Regions from separate parts of the Homo sapiens genome. Here region 1 is linked to region 2. Evidence: promoter capture Hi-C in human tissues and cell types (Jung and others, 2019). All regions are on one chromosome and are shown on one strand. The core of a region is centred on a gene start or on the middle of the fragment in contact, and the rest is flanking DNA. Distances in the headings are between cores, read along the strand shown.

Evidence for each region. The method cuts DNA at HindIII sites, captures the fragments that hold promoters and counts their contacts. A contact is called where the count stands out against the background at its distance.
Region 1: a fragment that was not itself captured here is called in contact with the fragment with the promoter of EBF2 in region 2 in 1 of the 25 tissues and cell types used here (dorsolateral prefrontal cortex).

The regions. Positions count from the first base shown.
Region 1 is chr8:25,489,677-25,497,244 of GRCh38, reverse strand. All of the region lies in intron 13 of CDCA2 (cell division cycle associated 2), which reads right to left. Among named protein-coding and RNA genes, the nearest start is that of CDCA2, 34 kb to the right of the region's middle. RefSeq lists an enhancer at 5,329-5,829. The HindIII fragment of the contact is 4,299 bases long and covers 2,498-6,796 here.
Region 2 is chr8:26,043,232-26,050,698 of GRCh38, reverse strand. EBF2 (EBF transcription factor 2) reads left to right here and starts at 5,286. Exons shown (of 16, transcript NM_022659.4): 1 at 5,286-5,970. The coding sequence starts at 5,840. RefSeq lists enhancers at 700-1,579, 1,978-2,770 and a silencer at 7,072-7,366. The HindIII fragment of the contact is 15,996 bases long and covers 1,475-7,467 here.

The sequences.
Region 1 (7,568 bases), core at 3,398-5,897, 550 kb after region 2:
AAGTGGGATTTGCTGGATCATATGGTAGTTCTATTTTTAATTTTTTGAGGAACCCCCGTAATGTTTCCCACAATGGCTTGTGAAAATGGATTATTTGGAGTCACTGTGTCATAAACAACTAGAGTCCAGAGACCAGGGGAAAAAAAGCACTTGGGACTGTAAGACTAAATTTAACTACCACCATCACTCACCAGAGTTTACCAGCTCCCCAAAATTTTGCTTAGGGCCAGTGAGTTTTTTTTCTAAATAATATGTAACATTTCTTTTTCTACTAAAAACCCCAACTTTCTACGTTCTTAGGACATATCAAAGACCACCTCGGTCTGTGTGTTTGCCCCAAACTGCAATTACGTTTTCCCAAATAAAACATTTTGTTTAGAGATTCAGTTCTATATTTTTAGTTGACTTTGCCAATCAAAACAGGCTGTAGCAATTTACATTCCTATTGATAGTGTACAAAGGATTCCCTTTTCTCCATATCCTCTCCAACACTTGTAATCTTTCATCTGCTTGATAATAGCCAGTGATATCTCATTGTGGTTTTAATTTGCATTTCCCTGATGATTAGTGATGTTAGCCATTTGCATGTCTTTTGAGAACTGTCTATTCTGGACCTTTGACCATTTTTAAATTGGTGTGTTCTTGCTAATGAGCTGTTTGAGTTTCTTATACATTTTGGCTATTAACCCCTTATCAGATGTATGGTTTGTAGTTACAGTATCTTCTCCCATTCTATACGGTGTTTCTTTCCTCTGTTGATTGTTACTATGTCACATCAGCCTTTTATCAAACGTTTTAAGCAGCTTTGTTGAGCATTTCTTTTATTACCTGAAATTCTTCTATAAACAACTTTTCCCTCATCAACTATTTGTTTACCTGAAATAGAGCTCAAATTTTATTTTCCTGTTATCAGAAAAATGAGTGGGTATCCTAGCAAGCTTCTAAAGTGTCCATTAATTAAAAAAAAGTAATAAACTTATGTGTTATTTCATGATTGTACTTCAATGCTTTGCAATGCTGATGATCATATCTGGTCAGTGTAAGTCCCTTGAAGATGGATTTGTGTCTGTTAACATGACACCAGTAGTTTTTTTTAGCATCCTTCCTTGTACTCTGGTACAGACCCAACCAGGCTCACTTATTAAATTTGTTGTTGTAAATCTGAAAGCAGCCATTTCACCAAGGGACCCTAACCCCTTTTAACTGGTATGTCTAATGATAATCTATGCACCAGGGATGCTCATGAATTTTAAGCTTTATCAATGGATAGAGCTGGACAATTCTTTTAAATGGAAAATAAAATGAGTTTCTACTCTTATTTCCAATTCAAATTTAGTCTTCCAAAGTTTTAAATTTGTTGGATTTAAAAATATATCTTTTGTCTCTGAGTGCACATCTTGATTCTTAATGATGGGAAAAATTGCTTATTTGCTTTATTCTAAATTCAGTGCTTCTATTGAGTGTTTCATACTGTTTATAATTTCTTTGCAGTTATTTTTGTCCTTAAGATTTATCCCCCTTATAGGGCCAGGCGCAGTGGCTCACGCCTGTAATCCCAGCACTTTGGGAGGCCGAGGTGGGCGGATCACGAGGTCAGCAGATCGAGACCATCCTGGCTAACATGGTGAAACCCAGTCTCTACTAAAAAATAAAAAATAAAAAATTAGCCGGGCGTGGTGGCAGGTGCCTGTATTCCTAGCTACTCGGGAGGCCGAGGCAGGAGAATGGCATGAACCCGGGAGGCGGAGCTTGCAGTGAGCCGAGCTCACGCCACTGCACTCTAGCCTGGGTGACAGAGCAAGACTCCATCTCAAAAAAAAAAAGATTTATCCCACTTATATTCAAATTTCTAGGTTTGAAAAAATTCTTAATGAAGTTAAGCCACCAACTTGACATAGTAAGAATTTGTCAAATTTTGCTTTCGCTTATTAGAGATTGTTCTCTTTCTACTAGTTTTAGTTTTGTTTCATAGTCAGGTAAAACATTTAAATGGTCCCACAATCAAAACTGAAAAACAGTACACACTTAACGAAGTCTAGCTTGCATTCACATTCTCTCCTGTCTCCTCCCTTCTCCCTATAGCCAGTTTTTTATTTCTCTTTGGTTTATTCTTCAACTGAAAAATCAAAACTATATGTGTACTCTACTTTCTTAGACAAAGGGTAATGTATTAGTTTGTAAGGCTACTGTAATAAAATGTCACAAACTAGGTAGTTCAAACAACAGAAACTAATTTTCTCCCAGTTCTGGAGGCTAGCAGTGCAAGATCAGGGTGTTGGCAGGGCTGGTGTCTCTTGGGGCCTCTCTCCTTGGCCTTCAGATGGCCACCTTCTTGCTGTGTCCTCACATGGTTATTTCTCAATGCACACTCGTCCCTGGTGTCCTTATGTGGGTCCGAATTTCCTCCTCTTATAAGAACACCAGTCAGAGTGGATTAGGACCCACCCTATGGATCTCATTTTAAATTAATAACTATTTTAAAGACCAAATCTCCAAATACAGTCACATTCTGAGATCCTGGGAGTTAGGACTTCAATATATAAATTTGGGAAGGGACACAATTCAGTCCATAACCAGTAGTTGACCACATATATTGTTTTATAACATGCTTTTTTCATTTTAACAGTAAACACAGTCATCCCTCAGTATCTGTAGGGAAATTGGTTCCAGGACCTCCTGTGGATACCAAAAATCTGCAGATACTCAAGTCCCCGACATAAAATGGCACAGTATTTGCATAGAGCATATGTAAACTTCCTTTTACAGCATTATACTGTAAAAATACAGCATAATAACTATGCTTTAAAGCATCTCTAGATGACTTAACACCAAGTACAATATAAATGCTACATAGTTAATATGCTGTATTTTAAAATTTTTATTTTTTTAATTGTTGTATTGTTATTGGGTTTTTCTGAATTTTTTTTTTTAAGTAATATATTAAGAAAATACAGATGGGGTTGTGCTATGTTGACCAGGCTGGTCTCGCACTACTGGCCTCAAGCAATCCTCCAATATCAGCCTCCCAAAGTGCTGAGATTACAGGTGTGAGCCACCTCACCCAGCCCTGAGTGTTTTTGATTCAACCAACCACAGATGCTGGACAACAGTATATAGAGGGCCATCTGTGTCCCCTTGGCATCACTGTATAGAAGTGTATGGAAGTTCTCTTCACAACTTTCTACAGCTGCCTAATACTCGCTTTGTGGAAACACCATAGTTTTTTCAACAAGTCTCATATTGATGAGCATATGGTTTGCTTTTAGTCTTTTGCTTTACAAAGAATGCTGCAATAAATAAACATATATTTTTGTATTTTGATCAGTGGATCTTTGAGATGGATTCCTAGAAATAGGCCTGTTGGGTCAAAGGACAAATGAGTATTTAATTTGGCCAGATACTGCCAAATACTCCTCCACAGAGGTCTGCTTTAGCAGAAAATGTATGAGTGTGCCTGTTTGCCCCATAGCCTTACCACGTGAGTATGCTGTCAACTTTCAGATTTTTGGTAATCTAAAAGGTGAGAAACGGCATCTCAATGCACGTTACAGCTGCAATTCTCTTATGATGAGGAAGTCTGAACATTTTCTTCCTGTGCTGAAGGTCATTTTCATTTCAGTTTTGTAAATGTTTTGTTATCTTTTGAAGACTGTTCCTTTCTAAGTAATTTAGAAGCTCTTCAAATATTAGTGACATTAATCCTTGGTGTCTGATATGAGTTGCAAATACTTTTCCCAAGCTTGTTCTTTGTCTTTTAAATTTTCTTATGGGGATTTTTTTCCTTACGCATGCTCCATGCTGTATGGTTCAAAAGATATCAAATTCACCAATCCTTTGCCCTCACTGTTTCTGGTTTTTGAGTCACACTTTGGGAACTTTCTCCATTTCTGGTTTATAAAGGAATTTACTCTTGAGGATTCTAATGCTACTTCTGGTTGAGAAGTGGCATTTAATCTAATTTTAGTTATCTGTCAACATCTTGCTATGAAAGATGAAAAAACTGCTCATTTAAAACCAAACCTGCCTCTTTTCTATGTTAATTGTGGCTCTTCAGTTGGTAAACATTGAACTTTTATATTTCTATTTCTTTTCATTAAATTTTAAAATATATATCTTGAATGTCTCATGATAATGATGATAATGACCACAAAGCTTACTATGGCCAGGCACTGTTCTAAGAGTTGAGCATGCATGAATTCATTAAGATTCAGAAGCTTCTAACATCCATTTCCACCACTGTTTTACAAACAAACAAACACACAAACAAAACAGAGTCCAGAATTTTACCCAGCATTGCACTGGAGGCAGGAATGAACCCAGGATTTAAACCCAGGGGTCTGGTCCAGAGTCTGCACTCTTACCAGCACACCATTAGCCCCCTTGTTTCTACCTTAACTCACTTTTCACCTTCTGCTATTAACTACATTTTCCTATCATTAGATTGTTAATACTCACATTGTCCTGCACAACAACCAAGTTGTTAAAAGCTTCGTCCTTAGTTGAAAACAAATAGCATCTGTATTATTATGACTGCAAACATTTTTCACGGCTCTGCCAAGTACAGCTTTCATACTCTTTTCTTCTCCTCCGGGCCCCTTGAGGGAGATGATTCCTAGCACTATAAAATCTACTTTTCCTTATACTGCATTATTGCTTGAAATCACAGTAATGTTTCCTTCATATTTACTCTAAAACTTTTATATAGACTTTTATTTGAAATGGTATATAATTACCGTTTTTTTCTTATGTGACATACCTTTCATACCATTCATTCTTTCAATCACAGGTCTTTTCCGTTTTTTAGCTCCAGCTCCTTCTCCCTGCTCAAATTTGGACTGGTTGCTCTTCTAGGCTGGCTGAACAGCTACAACCAGCGATTTCCCTTTGATTGCGCTCTTGTATTGTTAGATCCGTTGTGTCCTGAATTCTTAAGCTTAGTTCCTCATTTTGCTAGAGTTCCTCCTCCAGTAGCATCCAAAGAAAAATAACTTTCTGGCTGGGCATGTTGGCTCAAGCCTGTAATCCCAGCACTTTGGGAAGCTGGGGTGAGAGAAGTGATTGAGCCCAGGAAGAGTCTGAGACCAGCCTGGGCAACAAGGTGAGACCCCCCAACCCCCCGCTGCTTCAAGAAAGTAAAAAAAAATTAGCCAGCCAGGCGTGGTGGCTCACGCCTGTAATCCCAGCACTTTGGGAGGCCGAGGAAGGCAGATCATGAGGTCAGGAGTTTGAGACCAGCCTGGCTAACATAGTGAAACCCCGTCTTTACTAAAAATACAAAAATTAGCCGAGCATGGTGGTGCGTTCCTGTAGTCCCAGCTAACTGGGAGGCTGAGGCAGGAGAATTGCTTGAACCCAGGAGGTGGAGGTTGTGGTGAGCCAAGATCATGCATCACTGCACTCCAGCCTGGGCAACAGAGCAAGAGTTCATCTCAAAAGAAAAACAAAAAACAAACAAAAAACACTAGCCAAGCGTGGTGGCGTGCACCTGTAGTCCCAGCTACTCAAGAGGCTGAGGTGGGAGGATCACTTGAGCCAGGGAGGTCAAGCATGCAGTAAGCAGTGACCACAGCACTACACTCCAGCCTGGGTGAGAGTGAGACCTTCTCTCAAAATAAAAAGAAAAGAAAAAAAGAAACACTCAAATGTCTTTTATTTTTTCCTTCACACTTAATTGAGACTGGCTGGGTGTAGAATACTCGGTTGAAATTTTCTTCTAAGCTTTAAATGAACTCTTGTATGATTTTGTAGCTTTCCGGCTATTGCTAGTCTTGATGCCACTCTGGTTCTTATTTCTCTGTAGGAAAAGCCCACTTTCCTCATTATCCTTATTGTTCAGTTTCACAGTTACAGGCCTACCCCCTGGCCCTTCTTCATTGTACCAGTTATTCAGTGGGCGCTTTTAACTTGAAGACTCCTTTCTTCAGTTCTAGGAAATCCTCTTATTTGAATAATTTCTTCCATTCTATTTTTGGGAAATCCTCTTCTTTTATTTGGATGACTTCTCCCATTCTATTTTCTCCTTCTTTTTCCTAAGAGTCCTATGGTGTCTCCTAGATTCTCGTTTCCAGTCTTTCTTTTGCTCTATCTTCTGGGAGACTTTCCTTAACTTTAATTCTTTTGTCCAACTACTAAATTTTATGTTTTTGCAATTCCTTTTTCATAGTATCTCCTTACTTTTATGCAGATGATATTTTCTTAAATTGGAGTGGAGTATTTATGTATGTAAAATTTCCTTCTATTCCTTGAATAACCTATTTCTCTGAAGTCAGTTTTTAACCTTATTAACATTGGTCTTTTCACTTTCATGCTATTTGTTCTATTCAATTGCCTTGTTTCTTATTTAAGATTGGGTAAGTTGGTATATAGGTTTCCTCTGCTTTCCAGCTCAGTCTCTTTCCTGCGTGGAAATCCTACCTAGGGTGGGGCAGAATACTGGAGGGTCAACTGTCAGGATTTGCATTAGGGCAAGAGCTGGCTGTCAAGACTGTGGGACTTTCCAAATGCCAGAATGAGGGCTTTAATCTAGATGACAACATCTGTTCTGAGCATCAGGGTGGGAGGAGGCTGGTGTGCCAACTGGTGCAAACTGTCCCACGTATAGGACTTCAATTCATTTCTCTGTTTTTCAGTACCACCTCTCACTCTCACCATCCATCGTACCTGCCAATTCTGGGCCAGGGTCTCCTGGGATTCCCATGAACAGGCCGGCTCCCAGCTCCTCTCTAGCTCCCTCCTAGCACATTCTGAACTGTAAATCTTTCCACCTTTTTTTATCTGTCAACATGCTCCCATCTGCTTGGTCTTCTAGAAATTCATTGAAGGCTGTCGTCGGCTTCTCAATACCCCTCCTCATCCCTTTCCTCCTCTCATTGCTATTCTAAGTGTATTCCTTTTAGTACCTAAATGGTATTAATTCAGCAAGGTCCTGGGAGGGATTGCAGTGACTTAATGCTCAATCCTTTTTGTACTTTCTGGCCGTAATTTTATATGAATAGGTGTATATTCTTTGTAAGAGTGCTTTAAAATATATATACACACACACACGAAGGAAATCAATTTCTAATGTAATAAGTTGTATGTATATTTTTGAATTAATGGTATTTTTTCAGCAAGATAATCTTTCATCATTTTATCAAGAGTGTGTGACCTAAAAAGGAACTAAAGCAGGAAAACACCTAGTTCCTTCCGGATTTAATGACTTAAGGATATCTGTGCTACTCAACCAAGAAAAGCAGTCATTTTTATTTCATAGAGGGGGAAGGAAGTTTACGGAATGTTTTGGGTGGGTGTATAGGTTGATAAGTTTAGTTTTAGAAATGCTGATTTTGACATAGCATGGTTAAAGACAGATGTCTAGTACGTAGTTGAACACAGATTTACAGATCAGGAAGTTCTGGTCTTCATATATGGTCATTAACCATGCTGTGTATGAAATTACCCAGAAGATAAACAATTTACAAGGGCAAAGAAGAGAATTCTGGAAAACACAAACATTTAACAATGGGGGACAGAAAACAAACCTTAGAGACTGTACAGGAGTGTTCCATCATGTCAAATGCTAAGATGTC
Region 2 (7,467 bases), core at 4,037-6,536:
TAGGTGGAGGTGATCGTGATGGTGTGCGAGTGCGTGTGTGTGTTGGAGGAGGAGGTTGCCTAGTGCTAAATGGAATGAAATTCTAGATGGTGCCATATTTGCAGCTGACCCCCGCCGCCAAAGTCTCCCCCATCCTCAAATCCGGGAGGCGGGAGTCGCGGTGACTAGTATATTATGAGGAAGAAAGTTGGATCTGAAAGCCAAGGGTGTTTGTGGGGGCCTGGAGGAAAAGGCAGCCGGGTTGGGGGTGGGTAGGCAGCAGTGAGCGGGAGACTTTTGTCACCCCTCCCTTATCCGAGGAGGGCCCCGGGCGCGCGGGGCGCTGCTTGCGTGCGGGGCCGAGTGAGCGCTTGTGCATGTGGGTACGTCAGTGTACGTGTGAAATGTGGCGGCGCCGGCCGCAGCAGAGTATGCGCTCGGTAAAAATATGAATAATCAACACATCGCTCACACCTCCGCCGCGATCCGGGAAGGAGCTGGGAGGTCCCTCGGGCTTTCCCCTGCCGGCTGGCGGGCACCACCAGGAAAAGGGGGGCATTTCAGAGTAGCTCTTCGGTTATCACTGAGCTAAGAAGCCGGAAAAAAAGAAAAAAGAAAAATGTCATATTTAACTTTTTCTTTCTGAAGGCCTTCTGTTGCACCCTATTGTTGAGTATTAGAAGTGGAAGATCGGGGAGGATCCTTATTCCCCATTTAGCAGCTGGGATGCCACTTGTCATCTCCCACCCTCATTTTGTTCATCTGTAAAATGGGGGCAAACAAATCAATAAATTCCACTGGAAGTGTTGCTGTGAAGTTTAAGGGCGAGAAAGGGCCTGGGCAAGTCCTGCCTCTGATCGTTAGTACCTTCCTCTTGGTCTTCCGTTTCACGGAGACCAGCATGATTAGGCCTTTTAATGCGGGTCAACTTGCCCTGATCGCTGCACCGTAAATAGTGATGACAGATGCCACCGCCTTCGTGCACAGTTCCCTGAAAGGGGCTGTAATCGGCCAGCCGATTTACCCCAGCAAGGCCCCCAGCAGGGGCTTCACGTGAAAGTCACCCCTCCCACCTGGGAAATCGGGTCCCCAGGTTCGCGTGGAAGCTATCAATCACTTCCCTATACAGACAGCCTGTTCCGCAGCACACACACCTCCCGGGCCTCTATTTCCGCGTGGTCACCCGCGCTCCCCAAGCTGCTGCTGCGAGAATTTGTTCTCTTGACCTTTCCGCTTTGCTTCCTCGCTCGTTCTGCACCCGGAATAAGGAGATGGGAAAGAGGGATATTTCTGAAGGAGAATACCAGGGGGAGGAGGAGCAGAGGAGAGGAAGACGAGGAGGAAGACTTTCTGGAGTTGCCAAGTGTTAGGGTAGCGGTGAATCTGGCTCCTCCAGTCTATTTTGGGTAAACTTACTGCAGTGCCCCGACTGGCCTGGATACAACCGACATCAAGTGTCTCTAAAACGTTCCTCCACGACTCAGTATTTCTGCAGCTGTTGCCGCTGAATCTCCTTCACTATGCGAAAACAAAAGAAGCGAATCCACTTCTTACCCAAATTGTCCTATAAGGGAGCTGTTTGGTATTGACGGCGGAGTCCCCCTGAGATATTTGTCGTGCATTTATGATTAGTTTCTTTTCTCCCACCCTCTCTAGGGAATTTGCATTTATAGAACATACAAATCTAGTTTCCGGAAGAAAATGCCAAAGTTGCAATTTGGTGTGAGAGTTAATGGAGTTCGATATTTAAAAAAAGCATTTCATAAAGAATTGTGAGTTAAATATTCGGCAGGTCTCTGATATGCCAAGTAAAGCTATTTCTTTGTAGTCGGACAAAGAGTAAAAGTTCCAGCTTAAAAAATAAAAAACCCAAAATTGTAAAATTCACGTTCGAAGACAGGCCAGGGGGACAGCCACTTTTTCCATTTATAAAACCCAGACTGGCTCTCCCTGTGAATCGAATTCCCCGGCTACTGTCTGGCTCTGTGCTTCGGCGCAGGGGGTGTGTGTCTGGAAGAGGGGGTGAAGGTCGTATTTAGGGGTGTGTTCTGACATCTCTGAATTCACCCCAGTGTCCTGCCGGACAGGAACACAGCCAGGAGAGCAGTTTCTAAGTAAAATTTCCGAACCTCTGATCGGGAGGAGAGACTTGGCGCCCAGATGACTGGACCGGACGAGATTGAGCAAAGGGGCTTAAAACCAATTAAAAGGAAATCGAACATACCGCACTGGGTTGCAGACGTGAAACAGAAACATGAAAAAAACGGGGGTGAGGGTCATTTGGGAAGGGTAAATGAAGAAGGGGACAGGGTAAAAGACAGACACCCCCAGTTTTGTATAAATAGATTGTGAATAATTTTAATCATAGTGTTCATTTTGGATTTTTCTTGACCCGGGCTAGAGGCAGAACCGAGCTAGTTGGCCGGAGCCTGAGGAGCGCGTGGGCTCCGCAGTCCCGCGGGATTGGGCTTCCCGGGGCCGCAGCTGCGCTTGCCAGGCCCCCGCACAGCTCGGGGCAGGTTTTGTGTTGCACGAGATCGAAAAGGAGGTTTGTTTGGGGGTAGCTGGAGGCGACAGAGGTGGGAGCAACCCTCCAGGCGCAGCCGCCGCTGCTCATTCCCCCAACCAACGCATGTTTCGCGCGGGTGGCGGACTCCGCGAGCATTCCTACCCAAAACCTATACAGACGCAATTAACCCCAACTGGGTTGGCCGAAACGCCGCCACGCTGGGCCCAAGGCAGTCCTTGTCCCCTCACGCTCGCGCAGGCACTTCAGCCTGGCCAACAGGGAACTTCAACGCCCGCAGCGAGCCACACAGCCATCCCTGGAGCTCCCAGCAGCACTGCCGCGGGGGGCGCCCTTAGCGCAGCCGGCAAGTAGTGGGGAAGCCCCACTCTGTCAAAGTTCGGGACCACGGCTCCCCCAAATTGCCTCCCAGCGGGGCACCGAGGCCCCTGAGCGCGTCTCGGGGGGTTGGCTGGGAGGAGGGGCGCCCGCCGAGCGCGGCCCCGTCTGTTTTGGGGCGGGCAGCAGGGAGCTGGGAGAAAGGAACAATTCATTCGCTTCCTGAGGGGGCATAATTTGGGTGGCAGCTGTTACCGCCGAGAAAAGCTGGTGCCCTCGACCCTGACTTTGCCCTTTAACCCCAGCCAACCTGAGCCTGAGGGGTAAACTGTTGGGGCTTGGCCCAGGCCCACTGCTGACCAGAGGCCTCTCCGGGTGCCCTGCGCACCTTTCCGGGGCAACGTGGAGGTACAGCTGATCAAAGCCCCCTTGAAAAAAAAATCACCGGGCTCATAGGCATGTCTTGAAGGGCTCACGGCTGTTCCACACTCTCTGCCAAGGAACTCAAGGCTTTGGCCCCGCTGGGCGCAGACCCCAGACGAAGGGGGTGGGGGGGAGTTGCTTGAGGTTCGGAGAGATTTATAAAGAGAGACCGTAGAAGACTCCAGGTGATCAGTTTTTGCTGGGACCGAAATTCTCCGTAAAACCTGCATGTAACAGAGAATTGCCGAGTTGAAACAGGGCAGTGAATCTCATCCCTACAAATTTCCCTCCCTACCCCCTTCTTCCTTTGGACACTCCTGTCTTACTTGGCTTTTACTAGCCACCCGATCCATTTCCCAATCGCCCTGTATGGCTCTCCCGCCCCTTCCAGTCCAACAGGGAGGACCAAGCCAGAGCTCTGGGGTCGGGGTACCACAGTCAACACAACCCAGAGGCGGGGGGTTTACCTTCTCTACCTTCCCCCAAATCAATGACCCCAGTCCCTGGATCCCGGGGCCTGTGCAGAGACGGTCCGTGCACCCGCCCCGCAAACTCCCTAACCCCCTATCCGTTTTCAAGCGAATCTCCGCAGTTCGGACCAGCACTTCCTAGTCGCAATCCCGCGCACGCAGCGTGGTGCCGCGGTTTGTCCCTTGGGGAGGTGGAGGCGCGCACCGGTCCCTTTCTCGAGAGAGCCGAGTTTTCTTGAAGTGCAAGCTTCCTGTCAGCCTAGGCAAACCAGTTGCAAGGCGCTGTGTCCTCTAGCGGCAAACTCTAGCAGTTCATTTGCGAGCGCTCACCTACACCTAAGGGATCTGGTCTCTCAAATCTGAGACCCAAGAGGGGAGAAAGTGCCCTGAACGCAGTCCAGGCGCTCGCAAATGCCCTCCCCGTAATGAGACCGGGAGACTGGGGCGCAATCGCTCGAACTACGAACAGCTGATTGTCTCCTCCACGGCAGATGGTCTTTGAGCACAGATTTGCATTCATTGTCTTCAAATCTGTTTTCGCGCTGGTGTTCTAGATTTCAGCAGCAGCAGATCTATGCGCAGATCAGAATACAAAAGGAGAAGCAAGAAAATGACACCCAGCCAGGAGGATGTTTAATAGGCACCGCGAGCAGCCCCGCGCAGTTAAAAAACCGTCTAGGGTTTCAGCTGTTCGGTGAGGCTGCTGCCACCGCCTGCCGGCCACCAGCCCGCGGCCAGCACCGCGGCGACCGCGCGCGGTGGGCGAAGTTTCCACGACTCCCCCGTCCCTCCCCGCCCACTACCGGGGGCTTCGGGAACGGAGAGGTGGGGAGGGAACCGGAGGACCCGCGGGAATACTCCCCGGCCGCTCGCGCACTCAGCCCGCCTCGATCTGTCAGCAACCTCTCCTCCACACGGGTGCGACTGCCGCTCGCGCCCGCCCGCCCGCGGGTGTTTTCCTTAGGTCCTGGACCGTTTTCCCCAGCACTGTATTTGAGCAGCACTTGCCCCTCGCTTGTCCGCCCCACCCCATCCCCCGCCTTCTTTCATATGTTCTCCACTCTCAGCAACGTGCAAGCCGCACACAACATCTGATATCACCATGGAACTCCAGGAGACCTGGGGAGCCATTCAGGGAGCTGGGTGCTCTGGGGGACGTTTGCGCAAAACATAAGCACATGTGGCCACGCTCACAAGCATGCACACAGATCCGAACCCCGGGAACGAACGTGCCTCCCGGCAGGCTACAAAAGCCTACATCTAGAGGCAGGATCCAGGGAGGCTTCCCGCAGCCAGGCCGAACCCCTGCGTCCCCAGCCCGCAGAGACCTGCTACCCTAAGTCAGTGCAGGGTGTGGGGGCCCCCCAATCCTGCGCAAGCACACGGGGTTCGTGCTAGGACTCGACGCCCGCAGCTTTCTGTCCCCTTTCACCTCCCGGAGTCCCGGCAACGCAGAGCGTGGCGCGCGCCGCCGGAGGACGTCGGCCCGGCTTGCCAGGCGCCGGCCAATCCCGCGCGTCCATGCAAATGAGGCTCCTTATCGGGCCGCAGCTCCGCCTCCCGCAGCCAGGGCCGTAGTAACCCATTCATGGGGCCCGCGCGCGGCTGCAGCCGGGCTCCGTGGCGCTCGCAGCCACCGCCTCCTCTCGGCTCCAGGTCTTCCCCTTCTTTTTACAACTGATCCTGTTGGGGATTTTTTTTTTTTCTAAATTGGAACGGTGGGGAGGAGCAGGGAGGGGGGACCTGGAGGAAGGGGAGAGATTAGGCAGCCATCAATTTCCTCCAGTTTCTCCCAGAACAGGTGATGCTTCTAAATTGTGATCACTTTCAGGAGGCAGCACTGCAGCTGGAAGGATGCGAGCGACCTAGGGTGGAGTGGCTGAGGCGGCAGATCTGAACTTGCGGAGGATAAGAACCCAAACTTTGACTACATCAGTCCGCACCTCGCCAGTGAAGCAAAGGACGGGTTATCTTTTTTTTTTTTCTAAGACTCAAACTTGGGCACTTGATCCCTTTTCTTGGATTGCTTTGGAGGAGACGATTTGCTGGCAACGTTGGGAACAGTCAGGACTGTGTTGTAACTCTTACTTTTAAAGCGACAGTAGAGGATCAGACTTTTTAAATGTTTGGAATTCAAGATACTTTAGGAAGAGGACCAACTCTGAAAGAGAAATCGCTGGGCGCGGAGATGGATTCGGTCAGGTCCTGGGTCCGGAATGTCGGAGTGGTGGACGCTAATGTCGCCGCGCAGAGGTAACGACACGGCCGCGCAATTATTATGCTGTCTCTCGCTCTTACGGTCTGTCTCTCCGTGTGCACCCCCCCCGCGCACCCCGTGCCTTTCTCTCTCCCTGTCCCCCCATCTGTCGCCCAGGCCCTGCGCGCTGGGGCTCGCCCTCGGGCAAGCAGATCGCTGCAGTCAGGCGAACGCTCACCCGGCAGCCGGCACTCGAGTTCCTGAACTGCCTGGGTCGTAGGCGTTTCTCTCCCTCTCCTTTACCACAGTCCACTCTTTGCAAGGAAAAATAAAGTAGCCCCCAACATCTCCCAGCTCAGCCCCTAGTCCTGCAAGCCGAGCCGGCCTGGCCCCGAACGGAGCGTGAACACCGGCGCTGGCAGTGGCGGCGCGGGAGGAAAGCCGGCTTCCTGGCCACTCTTGGCTTCGCCACGCCGCCTGCGAGCGCCTACCTCCCGCATCTTGCTGGGCGATTCCTGGAGCCTGGGAGGCCGGCGGCCAGAGGGTGGCGGCGGCGAGGGGAGCGGGAAAAGCCGGAGCGGCTGCCCGGGAAGACGAGGCGGCCGGGAGCTCTGGGAGGGGGGACAGGCTGGAGGGTCCCGGCTCAAAGATAAAACAGTGAGCCAGACGAACGGAGCTAGGGAACTGGAGAAAAGAAGAGATTTAAAAGAAGAGAAAATACTGAGTCACAGTAGAAAGAGTTGCGGAAGAAGAAAGAGGCGAGAAAAGGCCACCAGCAGCTAGACTGGCTCAGGGATCGCCAGCCTCTGGTTTTGCGGATCCCTGAAGTTGACTTTGTGTTTAGGCGTCTGCGTGCTGGGATAGTAAATACCATGTCCGGGGTGCCACCCTACGAAGACATTACGGTCCCACTCTCTCATCACCACTACTGAGTTGGGATTTGTGGCCTCCAGGTCCTTGTCTGCGAGAGAGGCAGCCCTTCTACCCCCAAAGAGCCGATGAACTTCTTCCACTACCCTCGCTTCCCCTGCTGCCCTCCTGGCCACCCACATTTAAGTGCCAACATCACACGGAGAAATGATCCCTTTCCCAAACTGGCCAGGTGTCCCGGGTAGAGCGAACCGGCCTCTACCCTTGGAGCGGAGAAAGCAGAAGTTTTATCGCTCCGGGACTTGGGCCGGCGGCGGTTCCCTCCCTCCTGTGGCCCGGGGAGCGCGGATTTCCCTCCGGCAGACCGCACAGCGCGGCGGCCGCGGCTTTCCGCAGCGCTTCGGGACTGGCCCGCCTGCGAGCTAAGGGAAATAAGGCAGCACCGCAGAGCCAACTGTGCCGCGCATTTCCTTAGCTGGGCTCCTTAAAGACGCCTCCCTCGCTTTCCTTCCTTCCCGGGATCAAAAAGTTTGTTGAAGCTGGAAGGAGCAGACTTAGTGGGGGAGAGCTTAGCCAAAATGTTACCCCTTTCAAAAGAGTGAATGAAGGTGCTTGCGCACCGGGGTTCAACCTGGGAGACCCCAGCGCCGCAGGGCAGCTCCCGCAATCTGTGCGTTCACCTC